2 separate regions of the Homo sapiens genome follow, and region 1 is linked to region 2. The links are contacts of gene promoters, found by promoter capture Hi-C in blood cells and fetal thymus (Javierre and others, 2016). All regions are on one chromosome and are shown on one strand. The core of a region is centred on a gene start or on the middle of the fragment in contact, and the rest is flanking DNA. Distances in the headings are between cores, read along the strand shown.

What was found. The method cuts DNA at HindIII sites, captures the fragments that hold promoters and counts their contacts. A CHiCAGO score of 5 or more calls a contact.
Region 1: a contact is called between a fragment that was not itself captured here and the fragment with the promoter of ZNF587 in region 2, in 2 of 17 cell types (naive CD8 T cells and erythroblasts). The highest score is 5.7, in naive CD8 T cells.

What each region holds. Positions count from the first base shown.
Region 1 is chr19:57,422,116-57,424,815 of GRCh38, reverse strand. No RefSeq gene overlaps it. Among named protein-coding and RNA genes, the nearest start is that of ZNF749, 12 kb to the left of the region's middle. The HindIII fragment of the contact is 1,667 bases long and covers 456-2,122 here.
Region 2 is chr19:57,848,475-57,851,174 of GRCh38, reverse strand. ZNF587 (zinc finger protein 587) reads right to left here and starts at 1,316. Exons shown (of 3, transcript NM_032828.4): 1 at 1,104-1,316. The coding sequence starts at 1,136. LOC124904782 (a long non-coding RNA gene) reads left to right here. Exons shown (of 2, transcript XR_007067358.1): 2 at 614-860. RefSeq lists enhancers at 1-874, 929-1,018, 1,069-1,308, 1,479-1,538, 1,609-1,718. The HindIII fragment of the contact is 27,837 bases long and covers 1-2,700 here.

The sequences.
Region 1 (2,700 bases), core at 40-2,539, 430 kb after region 2:
GCAGACAAGAGCAGAACCTTCAATGTAAATGTTAAACAAGTAGGATCAAGATGCTGAAGCATTTCTTTGAAGAATTGTACAGATGAAACATGGCTTTATTATTAATTACTATTTGAGATGGAGTTTCACTCTTGTTGCCCAGGCTGGAGTGCAATGGTGTGATCTCGGCTCACTGCCACCTCCGCCTCCCGGGTTCAAGCGATTCTCCTGCCTCAGCCTCCTGAGTAGCTGGGATTACAGGCATGCACCACCTCGCCAGGCTAATTTTTGTATTTTTTAGTAGAGAGGGGGGTTTCTCCATGTTGGTCAGGCTGGTCTCAAACTCCTGAGCTCAGATGATCCGCCCAACTCGGCCTCCCAAATTGCTGGGATTACAGACGTGAGCCACGGCGCCCGCAATGAGAGTGTTTTGAGAAAGTTAGCTAAAGCTTTAGCAGAAAACCCATGGGAAAGCTTCACCAGGAGTCCTTCACTTCAATGCTCCTGCTCATTCCTCTCATCAAATAACTGCAACTTTACAAGAATTCTGATAACCCTAAGGCATCCACCTTACAGTCCGGATTTGGCTCCTTCTGACTTCTTGTTTCCTACTTTTAAAAAATCTTTAAAGGGCACCCATTTTTCTTTAGTTAATATTAAAAAAGATTGCATAGACAAGGTTAAATTCCCAGGAACCTCACTTCTTTAGGGATGGACTAAATGCCTGGTATCATCACTTATAAAATTGTCTTGAACTTGATGGAGCTTATGTTGAGAAATAAAACTTGTTTTCTTTTTGTATCCTTTACTTTCATGTTTCCACAAACTTTCTGAAGTCCCCACATATACTAAAAAACTCCTACATCTCAAAACCAAATAACCCTAAAGAAAAAAAAAAAACTCAACCCAGTAAAACTACTAAAAAAAAAAATTAATAATAAAGTTAAATTAAAAAATGATGCAGCTGCTATAGAAGAGTCCTCAAAAATTTTAAAACAGAATTAACATAGAATGGGAACATTGTGAGTCAGAAATTTAAAAAATTAAAAATATTTTTTAAATGAACATAGGGGGACAGGTGAGTGGATCATGAGGTCGAGATTGAGACCATCCTTGCCAACACGGTGAAACCCCGTCTCAACTAAACATACAAAAATTATCTGGGCATGGTGGTGCATGCCTGTAGTCCCAGCTACTTGGGAGGCTGAGGCAGGAGAACTGCTTGAACCCCGGAGGCAGAGGCTGCAGTGAGCTGAGATCAGGCCACTGTACTCCAGCCTGGCGACAGAGCGAGACTCCCGTCTCAAAAAACAAACAAACAAACAAACAAACAAAAAAAAAACATAGAAAGCACCAATTCTACTTCTGAGTAAATCCTCAAAAGGAATTTAAAGCACAGCCTCAAAGAAACATTTGTACATTCATGCTCATCTGCTATTAACAACAGCTGAGTGGAAACAACCCAAATGTCCACTAATGAAAGGAAAAGTGGCACATACATATATAATCATGCACCTCACTTTTCAGTCAACAATGGGCCACATTCATGACAGTGGTTCCATAAAATTACAATGAAGCTGAAAAATGCTTATTGCCTAATGACATGATAGCAGTAGTAAGGCAATATATTAATCACATATTCATGGTGATGCTGGTATAAACAAACCTACTGTGAGGCCAGTCATATAGAAGTATAACATATACAATAATGTACAGTAGATAAAACTTACGAGTTACTAGCTTATGTTCTTAGCATACTACACTTTTTATCATTAGGTGTTCTCCAACAGTAGAGTATATATGGAGTTGTGTGTATGTCTATAAATATACAGGTGTACATACACACAAACTGTAACACAGCCTCGGGCAGGTCCTTCAGGAGGTATTCCAGAAAAAGGCATTGTTATTTTAGATGACAGCTCCATGTGTGTTACTGTCCCAGAAGATCTTCTGGAACAGGTTGTGAAGGTGGAATAAAATGACATTATCCTGATCCTGTGCCGGCCTAGACAAATGTGTGTATCTTAGTTTTTAACAAAAAAAATTTAAGAAGTTAGGATATAAAAAATATTTTTGTACAGTTGTACAATGTTTTAAGCAAAACATTATTACAAAAGTCAAAAAGTTTTTAAAAATACAAGCTTATAAAGTAAAAAATGGTCAGCTAAGGTTAATATATTAAAGAAAAATTTCTATAAATTTAATTTTGTCCAGCCGGGCACGGTGGCTCATGCCTGTAATCCCAGCACTTTGGGAGGCCAAAGCGAGTGGCTCACTTGAGGTCGGGAGTTTGAGACCAGCCTGGCCAACATGGTAAGACCCCGTTCTCTACTAAAAATACAAAAATTAGCGGGGCATGGTGGTGCATGCCTGTAATCCCAGACACTTGGGAAGCTGAGGCAGAACTGCTTGAACCAGGAGGTGGAGGAGGTTGCAGGAAGCCAAGATTGCACCACTGCACTCTAGTCTGGGCAACAGAGCAAGATTCTGTCTCAAAAATAATAATAAAAATAAAAATGTATTGTCGTCTAAGTACACAATGTCTATAAAGTCTACAGCACAGTAACAACCTAGGCCTTCACATTCACTTACCACTCACTGACTCACCTAGAGCAACTTGCAGTACTGTAAGCTTCATTCATGGTAAGTTCTCTGTGAGTCTATCATTTTTTCTTTTATACTGTATTTTTACTGTACCTTTTCTGTTTAGATATACTTAAA
Region 2 (2,700 bases), core at 67-2,566:
AAAACCTAATGTGAGTTTCTGGGGTGCTAGTTGAGTTGGTCTCCCCTGTGTGAGACACCCATGGGAAGCCATGGGCGGCCTCTGAGGAGAAAAGTCTCCTTATTGCCTTCATGTCTTTATGCCCCGAGAGCATAACTCTTCAGCAGCATTCCATGGGTTGCTCAGGGAGATCACACTCCCTTGAAGCAGTGGAGCATAATCAAACATCTTGGCTCCTCCTGAAACCCGCAGCCACCCGTTTCAGTTAAGTTAAAGATCTTAAGTAGTTTAGACACACGCCTTTGTTCAAGGAAATTCACAGAAACGGCCAGTGCTTTACATCTTATGGAATGACTCACGAGTTCTCCTTTACTGATTAATCCTTTTCCTGATCGCTTCCTCCCCCTCCAATCAGCCATAAGAACAAAGAGCTTGTAAACCAATAAACTGGGTGGAGCCCAAGAGCTCTGGGCCGCCAGGAAGCCTCCAATGCTCTGGCCACCTGGACCCGCCTTTTAAATGCGTATTCTGTCTCTTTCTAACTCCTTTGTCTCCGCAGGACTCGGGGTATCTGCTGGGTGGTGTGGGGCTGGTTTCCCCAATATCTAAGATCAGTGCTTGGGGCATTTTGCAGATCCTGCACTGGATGGATCAGCGGACAACACACAGACCGGTAATCTGGGTCAATCAGTTCTGCCATCCCACCCAGAACAGAAAACAGCATGAAAAACTCACTTTAACCCCCTATGAATCCATCTCCAACCAGACTGATCAGCACTCCCCACTTCCCAAGCCCCTACCCGCCAAATTTTGAAAACTCTGATCCCAGAATGCTCAGGGAGACTGATTTGAATAATAAAACTCCTGTCTCCCGAACAGCAGGACGGCTCTGCGTGAATTACTATTTCTCCATCGCAATTCCCCAGTCTTCATAAATCGGCTCTGTCTAGGCAGCTGGCAACGTGAACCCACTGGACGGTTACAAGGAGAGGCCTCCTGTGAGCGCCTCAGTGTTCCTACGCCGGGTACCGGCTACAGACCCACGAGCAGGAGCCGCTCCCTCGCTGGTTTAGGACCTGGGTGACGATGGGGTGACCTGAGGGCACAGAAGGCACCACAATTACCTGAGTTGGGCGCCTCGGCACAGCCGCTGCCATCGGACTACTTGGGGAAGCACGGCCCGGGAGCAGTGGTCGCCGTCACGGGGCTGCAGAGCCGCCTCTGGGCACCGAGGACGATTCCTCTCCACCTTCTAGGTTCAGTCACCGCGGTCCCACCCAGCACTCAGGGGCCACAAACTGGGGAAACACCCGCATCGCCGATACACAGCCGCTACTAGAGACCCCGGAAGTCTCGGCCTTACGTTACGTGCACACGTGGAAATGCCTTCTTTCCGAGTGCTCACTGGCTCTGACCGGCTGTCGTTTAAAGCAGAGCTTTCTGGGTAATGTAGTTCCCCACTTTCCATGACACAACATGGTTACCAGGTTCTGAAATGTTCATGGCTCAGATGCACCTCCAAGCCTTTGTACCTATTGGTTCCTCTACCTGTATTACTCTAGCTGGGGTGAAGCCTGTAATACACAGCATTTACCTGAGCTAGGTCCCTCAGTGTGGCTGCTGCCATCAACTGTGGGTGGAGCAGGCATCACCCCAGCCAGTGCCTATGAGCCTCAGACCTGCCACTTGGGAGCAGAGATGACTACTCCTCTTGTGCCTTCTCAGTCCCAACCCAGTACTCCCTGGCCTGACAAGCATGCCCAGAAATCCCTCATCCTGGGCCTTGCAACTAGCGCCTTCTGGGTAAAGTACTTCCCAGAGCTCTCAGCCAACAATGGTGGTATCCTCCAAGAGCAAACCGAATGCAGACCATGTTACATTCTGAGGGCTGCTGGAAAGCCCTGCTCACACCTCAAAGGAGGAAGATTATTGATTCTTTGTAAAAGCATCAAATAGGTATCACATCAGACTCTAGGAAGCTCATCCTGCACCCAGAGAATAAAAATACTATTTGAGATGCTCCCAAACTTTACTTATCTAAGTGGCCATATCATTGGCATCATTCAGACTTACAATGTGTGCACTCAGAGCTGAGAACATTAAGTATTGATTGCTCTTTAAATTCACGTAGACTGAATCATTACAGTCAGTTTTGCGAGTTTCATTGTTTTGTTGGGAACAAAAGAAAATTCTCCATAAGACATGATGACAGGATGGGTACAAAAAACAGTGAGCAAAAATGAATAAGACCTAATATTTGCTACCATAACAGGGTGGCTATAGTCAAAATAATTTAATTATATATTTAAAAATAACTAAAAGAGTATAACTGGACTGTTTATAATACAGAGGATAAATGTTGAGGTGACTGAGACCCCATTTACCCTATGTGATTATCACATATGGCATGGCTACATCAAAATATCTAATGTAATCTACAAATATATACACTACTATATACCCACAAAAAATAAAAATAAAGGCCAGACATGGTGGCTCACACCTGTAATCCCAGCACTTTGGGAGGCCAAGGCAGGTGGATCACCTGAGGTCGGGAGTTCGAGACCAGCCTGGCCAACATGGAGAAACCGTGTCTCTACTGAAAGTACAAAATTTTCCAGGCATGGTGCTGCATGCCTCCAATTCCAGCTACTCGGGAGGCTGAGGTAGGAGAATTACTTGAACCCTGGAGGTGGAGGTTGCGATGAGTCGAGATCATGC